2 separate regions of the Homo sapiens genome follow, and region 1 is linked to region 2. Evidence: promoter capture Hi-C in 16 types of primary human blood cells and fetal thymus (Javierre and others, 2016). All regions are on one chromosome and are shown on one strand. Each heading gives the region's core, a stretch centred on a gene start or on the middle of the fragment in contact. The rest is flanking DNA. Distances are from core to core; before and after follow the strand shown. Region 1 has its middle 17 kb from the start of STEAP1B-AS1. Region 2 holds the start of IL6 (interleukin 6).

Region 1 (3,733 bases), core at 199-2,698, 180 kb after region 2:
TGGCTTACACTTTTCTACTTCACTCAGTCCTCTAAATAATGGGCATTTAGACTACTTGCAGTTTTTTGCCTAACGAAGTCATTGCTTCAGTGGTCTCTTTCTACACATGTACAATTATCGTGGAGGATAGGTTCTTAGAAGTGAACTATTGTGTCAAAGGTTATGTGCATTTTACATTTTATGAGTATTGCCGAATTTTTAAAAAGAGGTTGTTGCAATTTACATGATATATTTTAATGTATGTTTTCCACATCCTTGCTAACATCTTGTGTTTTTTTAATTTTAAAAACTTTAAAATATTTTGCTTAAGTGCAAGGCAAAGGAGAGTGGTTTCCTATTGTCATCATTTCATTTCTTTAATTATGAGCCATATAGGTGTCTTTTCCCATTTATGCTTCTTTCCCAATCTTCTATGGTACAGAAGGTTTGTTTGTTTGTTTGTTTTTTACTAATTTGCAGCTGCTCTTTATATGTTAAGTAAATGAGTCCTCTGACATCTGTGTTGCAAATGACTTTTTTCTTAGTTGTTTTATCTTTTCACTTAATTTTTTCATCCAAAAAACTTTAACTTTTATATAGTCAAAATGGTCAACCTTTGTCTTCGTGGCTTCTAGTTTTTGATGATACTTTGAAAACATTTCCTTTCCCTAAGGTATAGAAAAATTCTTTCATATTTTCTCCTGGAATTGGGAGGCTATATGACATAGTGATTAAGTGTATGGGCTTTGGAGTTAGGCTGCCTGTGTTTAAATCACACGTGCTGTGTGATCTTGGCTAACTTAACTTCTCTGGACTCAGATGTGTCATTTGTACCTATCATACAGGGATATTGCGAGGTAATGCCTGACATAGGGTAAGTGCTCAATCAATGTTATTGTTATTTTTAATCCAGTGCCCCTATGACTTTACTTAAGTTTTTATTCATTAGGAGTTAGTTTCATGCAAAGAGTAAGCCAGGGATCTAGCAATTTTTTCCCAAATTAAACAGTGAAAAAGAAGAGGCAACATTATTATTTGTAGGTGTCATTGTACTCCAAATGAAAAAACTAAAAAACGAAAGCTAAAAAAAAAAATAAGAGATGGTGACAACGTGGCTTATTACAATAATTAATAAATTTTCTACTACAAAAAGTAGACAGAAAACTAATGGAAGAAGTGTCTTCTTAATGTCATTTGTTGATTAATCTCTTTTCTCACTGATTCGGAATGCCAGCTTTATCAGACACTAAATTCACATTTGTATTTGAGCCTGTTTATTAACTTTATATTTTTTATTGGCTTAACAATTCCTTATTAAACACTGAACTGTTCAATTATTTAGCTTTATAATTCATTTTAATATGTAGTAGGGTTAGTTCTTTGCATTATTCTTTTGTTTCATAATTTCCTGTCTATTATTACATGTATATTTTTCCATATGAACTTAGGATTTTAGTTAAATTATAAACTAATAGGGAAGAATTGACATCTTTACATTATTTGTTTCTTGTATAAGAACAAGATATTTTCCTTAGACCAGTCTTCTTTTATACTGCAGAGGAAACTTAAATTTTTCTTTATTAAAGGTCTGCACATTTCATGTTAGTTTTTGTTCTTGTGGCTGTTGTCTATTGGTTCTTTTCTTTCATTAGTTTTCTGTCTACTTTTTATATGTAGGAAAATGATTAATTATTGTAATTTAGCCACTTTGCATTATTCTTTTAAATGTTGGTAGTTTCCCAGTTGATTCTTTTGAAGTTCAATGATATCTACAAATAATAATAACGCTGCTTCCTCCTTTCCAGTGTTTAAACCTTATTTTGTTTCTTTTGTCTAACTGTATTAATAGAGCCTCCAGAGTAATGTTAAATCATGGTAGTGATGGGGGCATTCCATATGGGCTTCTGAATTTATATATCTAGGGTTTTGCCATTCAATATGGTGCTGGATTTGGTTTGAGAGATTTCTTGAAATTGTGGGCATTCTCTGGTGGCCTTTCAAGTCTCTATTTCCCTTTTATGTTGCCAATAGTCCCCAAATCTTGCTTTGGGAGTGACTATCATTTCTTATTCTCAGTCCTGTGGTTCTGGTAAGAGGGGCCCCACTTGTACCTGTGGAGAAATAAGTCTCCCCTAGATTCCTCAGTGCTCCTATCTAGAAGCTGTAGCCTCCTGAGACACAGAAATGTGTATAATGTAAAGATAAAGAATGTTTGCCTTCTCCTAGCAATGTTTTACTTTTCATATACTGTGAGGATTAGGTCTGTAGTCATTTGTTTGATTAATTGCTCTGATCAAAAGGGATAATAAAACTTTTCTTATCTCCCTAGGAAGGGCAAATGGTTACAGTCCAGACTATTCCCCTAGGTTAGCCACAAAGTGCGGAGTACTAGCTCCCTAGGGATGCACTGTTGCTTTTGATTTACAATTTTGGCAAAGAAGTCAGTTCCAGAAGAGTTCATTTGGCCCTTCCAGTTATAATAGCCCTACTCCACAGATCAGGGAACCAGTGCGGACATTCTGCCAGTTGCAAAGTTTATTCTTTCTACACACCCTGAAATTGAGGGTATAATCACAGTGAGGGTCCATGTTGGACCCAATATAAGAGGGACTTGGGCAAGGAAGATTCAGCACTTGATCTGCAGGAGCTCCCATACTGCAAGGTGGTCTCTGAAGACTCATGTAAATTAAGAGACAGTATCTAATAACTCCTGGGAGATTTGTATATTCCCCTCTCCCACATCACAGTTATCAGGGTAAATGGCCACTGTTTGCTCTGGGAAAACTTTGGGAGAAAATTCGTATCATACGCTATGACTGCTTTGCAGGGTCTTCATTCTAGGGCTCCAGGTCTGTGAAAGAGGTTATGCATCTCCCTAGGATGACTTGATTTAGACTTCTGCCCATGAATTATTTTTTTTCTCCAATACATGTCAAGCAGCCAGCTGCTTAGTAGGCTACCTGCTGCTTATTCCATTTCTAAGGACACCATAATCAGTCATAACCACAAATTCCTGCAGCACCATTGTGTTCTCGAGGCTTAGTGTAGTAATTATGGCCACCATATCACTATTGGGGAAGTGGTGCCACCTGGGCTCTACCACAGCAGAATTGTGTTATTCTCCTTGATATCAGGGAACCTGTTCCATCCAGAGCTTTCCAAAGAACTCTGTGCGATTGGCCCATCTCCAATATGTTTTTCAAAGCTTTTGTGTGTGGAGATTACTCCAGGATCCTCCAGTGGGGTCAGTTGAATGGGGATGGTTGGGGAGGGGGCTGAGCAGGTTGCACATAATAGATTCATTCTACTGTTCCTATTTCTCTAAGCCTTTGCGGGGGGTTCTGGGAATGCACTCTAGCTGTAGGCTACTGTGGTAGGCAGAATAGGAGCTGACGGAATTAAGACTGCTAATCCGTGGAGTTATGCAGGTGGTCCCAGTGTAACCACAAGACTCCTTAAATGAAGAAGCAGGAGGCAGGAGAGCTAGAATCAAAGAGCTGTCATCAGGAGAAAGACTCAACTGGCCATTGCTGACCCTGAAGATGAAGGAAGGGGACTCAAGCCACGGAATATGGGCAATGTCTAGATGCTGGAAGAAGTAAGAAAACAGGTATTTCTCTAGAGCCTCCAGAAAGGAATGCAGTCCTGCTGGCACCTTCATTCTAGCTAAGTGAGACCCATTTTGGACTTCTGACCTCCAGAACTGTAAGATAATAAGTATATGTTGTTTTAAGCCATTTCGTTTGTGGTAATT
Region 2 (3,676 bases), core at 585-3,084:
CAGTTGTTAAAATCTCACCACAGTGGCACCATCTCTGGCCATACCTGTCCAAGAATAAACTGCCTTTAAAAAAGCTTGAAGTTGGCCTCCTCATGAAATTTACATAACATTCTTTACATTTACCCACTTTTTGTTGCTGCCTGGATCTATATGTATACAGGCACTGCATGCAAGAGGGAGAAGTTTTGCCTAAGGAATAGTGAAAAGTGAGTGCGACAAGTTGGTACCTCATTGAATCCAGATTGGAAGCATCCATCTTTTTCAGCCATCTTTGGAAGGTTCAGGTTGTTTTCTGCCAGTGCCTCTTTGCTGCTTTCACACATGTTACTCTTGTTACATGTCTGGGAAAGAATACCAGAATTGTTATCACCTAAGTGTCCCTAAAACAAACACCACTAGAGGGCCTTTTCATTGTTCAACCACAGCCAGGAAAGTCTCTAAGAAAAATGAAGCTACAACTCATTGGCATCCTGGCAAGCAAATTCCAGTGGAGTGGGGGCACACTTGGGTTCAGTTCCAAGCTCACCTGTGACTTTAGGTGTGTTACTTAATCCTGAGTCTCAGTTTCCTTATCTCCAAAAACCTTCCTTGCAAATTTGTTTTGAAGATTAGACACAATATTTATTTAAAGTGCCTGGCACACAGTAGATACTTAATAACAGCAATTTTGACAATAATTAGGAGAATATAATTCAAGCCATAGAATGTTCCAGCAGGAAGGATCTATGAGATCACCTAGTCCACGCCCAATTTTACTGATGGAGTCCAGAGGTGGTAGGGAATTTACCCAAGATCACAAGGCTGGTTTGGCAGAACCAGAATTCGAGTGTGGGCTCCCAATCTCCCCTCCTGTGTTCTTTTCTTTCTACCAAACAGGACCAAAATACCTTGCATTGAAAGTGGGGAGATGCTTTAACCTATTTATGATTTGCCACTTTGGTGGGCTCTGAGGTATGAATCTTAGCTGGAATGGCTTTGAGGAATCCTAGCCATTGAGTTTACATAACCAAAAAGTACTGCAACTGCTCTGAGAAGCTGAACATGCCTTTCAGGTGGCACTTTTCTAGTCCTTCCAAAGCCCGGGGGACAAAAAGGAGCTTCACAGACCTAATTTTTTGGAAAGGGAAAAGGAAGCCCTGAGAAGCAATAACCCTCAGCTCATGCCAAAGGTGGGCATGGATTTCAGACCCATTCTGCATTTTCCAGAAAGGAAAGGAACTTCCTGACACCAGCAAAGGATAAATACAGAAGTCAGTCTAGTCGGCCCCGTTGGCCTCAAATCTACAGTGCTCTAGAACCCAGCAAAGACCTCCTAATGCAGGCAGCCCCCGGCCACACGCAGGGGCAAGGGGAACGCATGCGCACCGGGCCCTTCAACCCCATCGCCAAGCCTACCCACCTCCTTTCTCAGGGCTGAGATGCCGTCGAGGATGTACCGAATTTGTTTGTCAATTCGTTCTGAAGAGGTGAGTGGCTGTCTGTGTGGGGCGGCTACATCTTTGGAATCTTCTCCTGGGGGTACTGGGGCAGGGAAGGCAGCAGGCAACACCAGGAGCAGCCCCAGGGAGAAGGCAACTGGACCGAAGGCGCCTGTGCCGGAGGGGAGCGAGCGCAGGGGTGAGCTGACAGCACAGCTGGGAGCCTGCCTCTGCTGCTGGCCGCCCGCCAGCCCTCCCTGGGCCACACACCCCTCCCTCACACAGGGCTCGACCGCCGCTGGCAGTTCCAGGGCTAAGGATTTCCTGCACTTACTTGTGGAGAAGGAGTTCATAGCTGGGCTCCTGGAGGGGAGATAGAGCTTCTCTTTCGTTCCCGGTGGGCTCGAGGGCAGAATGAGCCTCAGACATCTCCAGTCCTATATTTATTGGGGGTTGAGACTCTAATATTGAGACTCATGGGAAAATCCCACATTTGATAAATCTTTGTTGGAGGGTGAGGGTGGGGCCAGAGCGGGTGGGGCTGATTGGAAACCTTATTAAGATTGTGCAATGTGACGTCCTTTAGCATGGCAAGACACAACTAGGGGGAAAAGTGCAGCTTAGGTCGTCATTGAGGCTAGCGCTAAGAAGCAGAACCACTCTTCCTTTACTTTCTTTTTTTCTTTTATTAGTGACTCAGCACTTTGGCATGTCTTGACAAAGAGTAAAGCTGAAGTCATGCACGAAGTTTTACAAAGAGAAAAAAAATAAGCTAAAGCTATGTTTTTTGAAAAAAAAAAAATTTTTTTTCAGTGACCAGATTAACAGGCTAGAATTTAGCGTTCCAGTTAATTTGTATTTGTAAAAACCAAAGATGTTCTGAACTGAGTTTCCTCTGACTCCATCGCAGCCCCCCAAGCCTGGGATTATGAAGAAGGTAATACTACCAGTCATCTGAGTTCTTCTGTGTTCTGGCTCTCCCTGTGAGCGGCTGTTGTAGAACTGCCTGGCCATCCTCAAATTTCGTGCAGTTACTTCAAGGCGTCTCCAGGTGGAGTGTGTGACTCCTTTTTGCCACCGCGTGGCTTCTGCCACTTTCTTCACCTGCTTCAGCCCACTTAGAGGAGGTTGGCTGCTGCCCTGCCCTCTCCCAAGTGACCCCTTGGGAATCCTCCCAGTGAGGACTTTGCTCTCTGTGCCAGAGGTTTGCCTTGTGCTGCCAGTGCTCTCCCCATTGCCACTGAGTCTCTTCACCACTGTTTCACTGGGGCACCTGCATGGGCCCCAGGTCTCCTGGAGCCCTGAAATTACTGAAGCCCACTTGGTTCAGGGCAGAAAGGGGGAGAATACTACTCACCTCTTTGTTGGGGATGTCAAAGGAGGACCTTGTGGCATCTTGCAGAGTTTGTGTTTATCGCTCCCTCTCCCTGTAAGTCTTGATTTGAAATCAAAAGAAGCTAGAAGGAAACTACGGACGCAGGCACGGCTCTAGGCTCTGAATCTGCTTCCGCGTCGGCACCCAAGAATTTCTTATTGGGTCAAGCTGGTTCAGAAGCCCTCTTCCCTCAGGATGGTGTCTCTTGCAGGAGGATCCTTGGTCTCATGCAAATGGGCTCTAGACTAGGTTGTCCCTCCAGTCTCCAGAGACCCAGACAGCTCTGAGATGGCTTCAGGCTGAAACCAGACCCTTGCACAACACCAAAACACTTATTTACCAAACATGGTGTTACCTTCACAATCGGTTTCTTTGCTTTGCTAAGAAGAGATCTCTTCAAGATCGATAAAACAGTGACCTCTGTTGGGCATTTACTCAAGTTTTGTTTCGTGCATAACATTTCAGGACCCGCCTGTTGGGGAAAGTGAGGTCATCCATTCTTCACCGATTGTCTAAACAGAGACGGTGGTCCTCTGCCGCGGTGGGATTCTTTGGTGTGAAAATGAAAATGGGGGAGGATGGCTGGATGGTTTCATTTTTAGTGCTCTCCTGTCTTAAGCAACGTAGACACTCCTGAACCAAGTTCTCTTTCCTGCATGAAACGAAGCCACTGCTCCCAGCTCCGCAGCCGTGCACTGTGATCCGTCTATGTAATGTGAGCTTGCTTTTACTCAACTATCTATTTTTTAGAAAATACAATTCAATAAATTTCAAGTACTTGAACTGAGTGACACAATACAACACACAGATTTATCTTTTCAATAAAAAGTGTTTTTTAAATAGGAAGTTCGTGTTCATGATAAAATGTTCAAATAGGACATCA

Evidence for each region. Contacts are between HindIII fragments. The CHiCAGO score rates a contact against its expected background, and 5 or more counts as called.
Region 1: a contact is called between a fragment that was not itself captured here and the fragment with the promoter of IL6 in region 2, in 6 of 17 cell types (monocytes, M2 macrophages, M0 macrophages and 3 more). The highest score is 7.6, in monocytes.

What each region holds. Positions count from the first base shown.
Region 1 is chr7:22,544,331-22,548,063 of GRCh38, reverse strand. No RefSeq gene overlaps it. Among named protein-coding and RNA genes, the nearest start is that of STEAP1B-AS1, 17 kb to the left of the region's middle. The HindIII fragment of the contact is 3,477 bases long and covers 1-3,186 here.
Region 2 is chr7:22,725,358-22,729,033 of GRCh38, reverse strand. It overlaps IL6 (interleukin 6), which reads right to left and starts at 1,834. Exons shown (of 5, transcript NM_000600.5): 1 at 1,753-1,834; 2 at 1,400-1,590; 3 at 228-341. The coding sequence starts at 1,771. IL6-AS1 (IL6 antisense RNA 1) reads left to right here and starts at 1,414. Exons shown (of 2, transcript NR_131935.1): 1 at 1,414-1,466; 2 at 2,329-3,639. RefSeq lists an enhancer at 1,185-2,384 and a silencer at 2,370-2,419. The HindIII fragment of the contact is 10,105 bases long and covers 77-3,676 here.